Regions from separate parts of the Homo sapiens genome. Here region 2 is linked to region 1. Evidence: promoter capture Hi-C in human tissues and cell types (Jung and others, 2019). All regions are on one chromosome and are shown on one strand. Each heading gives the region's core, a stretch centred on a gene start or on the middle of the fragment in contact. The rest is flanking DNA. Distances are from core to core; before and after follow the strand shown. Region 1 holds the start of BCL2 (BCL2 apoptosis regulator). Region 2 overlaps BCL2 (BCL2 apoptosis regulator).

Region 1 (3,338 bases), core at 296-2,795:
ACAATCCTCCCCCAGTTCACCCCGTCCCTGAAGAGCTCCTCCACCACCGTGGCAAAGCGTCCCCGCGCGGTGAAGGGCGTCAGGTGCAGCTGGCTGGACATCTCGGCGAAGTCGCGGCGGTAGCGGCGGGAGAAGTCGTCGCCGGCCTGGCGGAGGGTCAGGTGGACCACAGGTGGCACCGGGCTGAGCGCAGGCCCCGCGGCGGCGCCGGGGGCAGCCGGGGTCTGCAGCGGCGAGGTCCTGGCGACCGGGTCCCGGGATGCGGCTGGATGGGGCGTGTGCCCGGGCTGGGAGGAGAAGATGCCCGGTGCGGGGGCGGCCCCCGGGGGCGCGGCGCCCACATCTCCCGCATCCCACTCGTAGCCCCTCTGCGACAGCTTATAATGGATGTACTTCATCACTATCTCCCGGTTATCGTACCCTGTTCTCCCAGCGTGCGCCATCCTTCCCAGAGGAAAAGCAACGGGGGCCAACGGCACCTCTCGCCCCAGCTCCCACCCCACGGCCCCCAGAGAAAGAAGAGGAGTTATAATCCAGCTATTTTATTGGATGTGCTTTGCATTCTTGGACGAGGGGGTGTCTTCAATCACGCGGAACACTTGATTCTGGTGTTTCCCCCTTGGCATGAGATGCAGGAAATTTTTATTCCAATTCCTTTCGGATCTTTATTTCATGAGGCACGTTATTATTAGTAAGTATTGTTAATATCAGTCTACTTCCTCTGTGATGCTGAAAGGTTAAAGAAAAAACAAACTAATAAGTAAAAAATCAGGTGCGTTTCCCTGTACACACTGAGTGAAAGCAGGGCATACACACTACAAGTAACACGGCTAAAAAGAATGTATTAAGCTGCCTGGAAATTAAATTTACTCGAATGCACTTTAAGTAAAAAATCTCAAAGGTTTCCATTGAAAGTTACATTAAACCAATTTCCTGTGCAGAGAACTTACTTGTATTTTTTAAGTACAGCATGATCCTCTGTCAAGTTTCCTTTTTGTAAAACCAAAACAAATGCATAAGGCAACGATCCCATCAATCTTCAGCACTCTCCAGTTATAGCTGATTTGAAACTTCCCAATGAATCAGGAGTCGCGGGGAGAGGGAGTAAAAATTAGGAGGATTTCCAGATCGATTCCCAGACTTCTGCTTCACAGAAATGTCAATCCGCAGGAATCCCAACCGGAGATCTCAAGAGCTCGAGAAAAAAAAAAGGCAGCGGCGGCGGCAGATGAATTACAATTTTCAGTCCGGTATTCGCAGAAGTCCTGTGATGTTTTCCCCTTCTCGGCAATTTACACGCGCGCACACACGCGCGGGCACAGGCATGAATCTCTATCCACGGGACCGCTTCACGCCTCCCCAGGAGAGAGACAGGGGAGAGGGGACGATGAAGGAGCCGGGGACGGAGGCAGGAATCCTCTTCTGATTAAACTCCGAACAGCAAATGCATTTTCCGAAAAGCTGCTGGATAAATGAAGGCAGGACGCGCCTGGCCCGCCGGTGCCGAGCGCTAGAAGCCCGCGCTGTGTGTGGTGCGGCGAGGGGTGGGGAGAAGGAGGTGGTGGGGGAGGGTTTTATTTTTTCCCTCTTTTCCTAAAAAGGATGACTGCTACGAAGTTCTCCCCCCTGGACCCCCTCTTCCGCTGCACCCCACCGGCGCACCCCGCCTCCGGGCTGCGCACCCTTTCTCCTCCTCCTGGTCCTGCGCGGCGGCGCTGGCTACGGCCGCCTCCCGGAGCTCCCGCCGCGCAGCCCGCTCCGAGCGCTGACGGCCGCCGGCAGGGAGGGCCCGGAGCCCCGGCACCTTCGCTGGCAGCGGCGGCGGCGGCAGCGCGGCGGGGCCACGGAGAGCGGCGGGCGGGAGCGCGGCGGGCGGGCGGGCAGGCGGCGCGGAGGGGCGGGCGCGGGAGGAAGGGGGCGGGAGCGGGGCTGTGGTGCCTGTCCTCTTACTTCATTCTCTGCACAGCCCGACCGGTTTCCTGTGCGTAACGTCACACGGTTCATTCAAAAAAAGAAGAAAGAAAGAGCCCTCCTCTGAGCCACCCGACCGCCCCCTCCGCCCCGCTCCCTGGCCCGGGTTAAAGGCGCCGCGGCAGGCCCGGGAGTGGCGCGTCCCGCCGGGGGCACATGGCGCGCGGGGCCGCGGCCGGGGAGGGCGCGTCCGGGCCGGCCACCCGCCCGCTCCGCTGCGCCCGCGGGGCCCGGCCAGTGGGTGGCGCGGGCGGCACAGGCCTCCCGCGCGGCCGCGGCGCGGTGGGTGTGCGCGGGGCCTTCTGCTCAGGCCTGCGGCAGGCCGCGTGCGGACTTGGTGGTCGCTGGGGTCCGCGACGGGGTGGGGGCTCCCGGGGAACCGCACGCGGCCGGGCCGGGCGGACGACGGAGTGCGGAGGGGGGCGGCTGGCGGGAGGGTGCGCCATGAAAACAAGGGCTGGAAAAGCGCCGGGAACCGCCTGGACCCTTTCTGGCCGTGTGAGTGTGTGTGGAGTGTGTGTGTGTGTGTGTGTGTGTGTGTGTGTCTCGCCTGGACCTTTTCTAGCCGTGTATGTGGGAGTGTGTGTGTCGCCTGGACCCTTTCTAGCCGTGTATGAGAGTGTGTACACGCGCCTACACACACACACGTTGTGTTACCGGCGCTCGGCCGCCGGGGGAAGACCCAGGCCAATGCCGCCCCCCACCGCCCCCAGCAGTGGGACCTCAGCGCTGCCCTGCTGTGAAGACAGGTGACTCTGCACGTTTTAAGCAATGTCTAGGGACGCCCCGAGCGTGGTGTTTACTTTCAAGTAGCTTCCTAGGTGTCCGCGCACTACACACGCACGCGCATCCCCGCCCGTGTCCACCTGAACACCTAGTCCGTGGCCCAGGCCATGCAGAACTCAGCGCTCCAGGGAAGGGGTTTATCAAGGGCTTTACGACAGTTTAAGTCAATGTTTTCCCTCTGTCCCTAACACCTTTTACACTGGTTTAGTGCTACACGATGAGGACTTCCATATAGTAACTTTCAGGCCCACCGTCCTAACGCTGGGGTGGGTGGGCTCCTAAAGGTCTCCACCTTTGCCTCGTAGCCAATCCTAGTTGGCCGCACTTTCTCAAATGAGGTACATAGATACACACATACACATTCACACTCGCAGACGTGTGTACGCGCAAGCAGACAGTTTTAAATTAATCAGCATGAATAGCCCCTAGCAAAAAAGGACAAGAGGACAAACAAGTTGCACGTGTGTATTTTTATCTCCAAGAGTCTTTGACAAAGCACCAAGAAAAGAAAAAGGTCTTCTAGAAGCACAGCGGCTTACTTAATAGGGCTCGAGTGCAAATATATAGGGACACTGGATTAT
Region 2 (3,012 bases), core at 112-2,611, 33 kb before region 1:
CTGCACCCTCCCCACAATCTTGTGACAGGGGAACATATGCAAATATGAGATGGGTCACTGCCGGGGAGGTACTGGATGGGGGATGTGTTCAGGAGGCTTCTGCCAGCCATGGACTGAACATATGTCAGCCATGTGGTACGGTTCTTACACAAAAACAGAATCCTGAGTTTGGTTTCACAAACAGGCTCATCTCTCATCTCTGAGTGTGTAGCGGGAGAGGGTGCACCGTTTCCATGCAGGGCAAATCTGTCTGCATGGGGCTGGGGGTTCTGCATCTCAGCATGGGTTTGGAAAGTACTAGAAGTGCATCTCACTCAACTTGATTTAGCAAGCATGTCTTTGTGGTCCATGGCTTGTGTTGGCAACTTAAATTTGACAGCACACAAACTATGTGATGGTGATGGAGGGGCAGGTATAGCAACGTCCAGTTTCCCACCTCCAGGTAGTGGCATTCTCCCTGTCCTTTCTGCAACAGCAGCCTGGGAGGTTTTCAATGCCCTTACTTCTCCTGGGTATATCTGAACTATGTCCTGCTCTTATACACATAAAAGGGTCACTTGAGGAGCTTTGGCCATATGGCAGCTGTTTGGAAACAGGCTGCCTGATGCATTGACAACCACAAGAAATCTGGAAGAGTAAAACCTGCCCCATAGCTGGCATGCTACTTGTACATTAAAATGAGAGCATAATGTAAAAGAAATGCCTTAACACTTCCTTCACTAGGTTCAAACTTGCTGTGATTATTTAGGAATTCATTTCATTTAACCAAATATGAATTGAGCACCTTTTACACAGTTGGGGGCAGGGGTGTCCAAACAGACATGAATAATTATGATACAAAACCTATTGTATATATACACAGAAAATGGATGTAGACACAAAATGAATAAACATGAAATGAATGTAGACAAAGGATAGGTTAATTTTCATTGAAGGGGAGGCAGGAGGGTTCAACAAAGGAGTTGAACGTAGCTGGGACGTAAGATTAGGGCAGGAGTAGGGGCGAGGATTGGGAGCAGAAAGTAAGGAGGACAGAGAACTTTAATGGGAGGTAGACTGGAAAGTGGGCTGGTGCCAGCCCTGAAGGTCAGCTGTACACCAAACTCTGTAGCTTGGTATACAATGACCTCTGAGCCAACCTTCAGGGCTGGCATTCTGAAGGTCATTGAAGGGGAGGTAGGAGGATTTGGTTTGCGGCAGTTTCCAGGTGAGAGGCAAGAAGTAAGGAGAGAAGGCAGAGATGGCACAGGATGGTGGGAAGGGAGTCCTTGGTGCCCAATCTCTGCCAGGCAGGGTCCTATCTTGCTACCCCATGATCCCCACATGATGATTGCATGGAGCAGATGTCATTATCCCCATTGCAGATCTGGGTCTCCTGGGTCCCTCCTCAAAATAAGACCCATTCAAAAGACACCTCCTACAACACGGGTCTGAACTACAGGTCTCCCGAGGCCACTATGGAAGGATACTGGCACTCATTCAACAGCAAAACTGTCCCAAAACATCTTCTGTAGACATCTGTCCCTCTCCAGCGTTTTGCTTCTTGTGGCAGTTGTTCTCTTTTCTCCGTCTCTCACTTCTCTCTCTACTACCCCCTTCTTGGATCCCTTTTCTCACAAGAGCTCTAGGCCACCATTTCTTACTCAGAGTGACTTCCTGCTTCTCTGATCTGCCCATCAGTTGCCCCAGTTAGCAAGATGAAGGGTCCTCCTCAGGAACCAACCTCCTTAGAAAGTATTAGAATTCTGTATGCTCCTTATTTTATACTCTGGCTGGGTCACATTCTAACAAGGAAACTGAAGCTTGGAGAAACTAAGTGTTTCTCAAGGTGCTCAACAGAGATGTTTTAGGAAGATAAATGGCATTGACGAAGAGGATGGATGGGCTGGGAACAGGTGCTGAAAGAGAAGGATACCAATCTATGACATTTTGGAAAATACAAAACTCTAGGGATATAGAAGAGAAGAGAAGTTGCCAGGGCTAAGGGTTAGGGGGTGGCGGGCAGTTTGAGTACAAACTCTCATCATGAAATATGTTTGGGGGGTGACTGACCTGTTCTGTATACTGATTAGAGTAGTGGTTACCTCTCTGTTCATTTATCAAAACCCACAAAGCTACACAAAAATGATGAATTTTACTGTAGGTAAACTTAAGAATAATTTTTGAAATGACAGGAAGACTGGCTAGGAGGTTACAGCATATGCAAGAAGGAATGAGAGGTTGAATTAGAGCAGCAGCAGCAGCAGGATAAAAAAATAATAAAATAATTTTAAAAACCTAAAAACCAGAGATCTAGGGAAGAGAGACTTTTAGAAGCAGGATTCAGATATGTGGGGAGTATGAGTGAAGAACTCAGATATGCAGACTTTCAGGGCTGGAAAGAATCTTAAGAGATGATCCAGGAAAGCTCTATCTCACAGATGAGAAAACCAAGTTGAAAATGATTTAAGAGTTTGGGGCTCTGTCTGGGTGGACAGTGATATCATTAAGCAGACAGAACAGACATAGATGAGCAGGCGAGAGGAGGAAGTTGATGAGTTCATTTTGGACATTTTGATTTTGGAACATTTATGTCACCAAGATTTCTTTTTTTAGTTTTTAGGAATTTGAAAACAAAATTGTTGGGTTTTGGCATTGAGTGCAATATCTTTCCACAAATACTGTTTCATTACAGCTACAATGAAAAAGAACTTTGAATACAGATCCCTACATGAAGATGACACATTAGCTTCTTCTGAGTTGTTTTTGTTTTGTGACTTTCCTTCAGCATCACAAAGAGGGAATGACACTGACCCAGCAAAGATTTTAGGCACATTATCCATTAACATACTTGCCACGAACACTACCATATTTTCATGTGTTTATATAACAAAGCTTTTCCTTCCTTATTAAAAACAATACAAATCAAGCTTTGAAAAGCAGTTGTTTTCCATTCTTACTGATGCTAGGCTATAATTCACTGCTGTTTTGTTTTCGTTTTAGAATATTTAGCAAGCAACCAAGGGAAGATGG

What was found. The method cuts DNA at HindIII sites, captures the fragments that hold promoters and counts their contacts. A contact is called where the count stands out against the background at its distance.
Region 2: a contact is called between a fragment that was not itself captured here and the fragment with the promoter of BCL2 in region 1, in 1 of the 25 tissues and cell types used here (hippocampus).

What each region holds. Positions count from the first base shown.
Region 1 is chr18:63,318,224-63,321,561 of GRCh38, forward strand. It overlaps BCL2 (BCL2 apoptosis regulator), which reads right to left and starts at 1,546. Exons shown (of 3, transcript NM_000633.3): 1 at 951-1,546; 2 at 1-729. The coding sequence starts at 443. RefSeq lists silencers at 168-407, 1,763-1,952, 2,113-2,322, 2,353-2,422 and an enhancer at 3,314-3,338. The HindIII fragment of the contact is 10,586 bases long and covers 1-3,338 here.
Region 2 is chr18:63,285,503-63,288,514 of GRCh38, forward strand. All of the region lies in intron 2 of BCL2 (BCL2 apoptosis regulator), which reads right to left. Among named protein-coding and RNA genes, the nearest start is that of BCL2, 33 kb to the right of the region's middle. The HindIII fragment of the contact is 3,059 bases long and covers 1-2,891 here.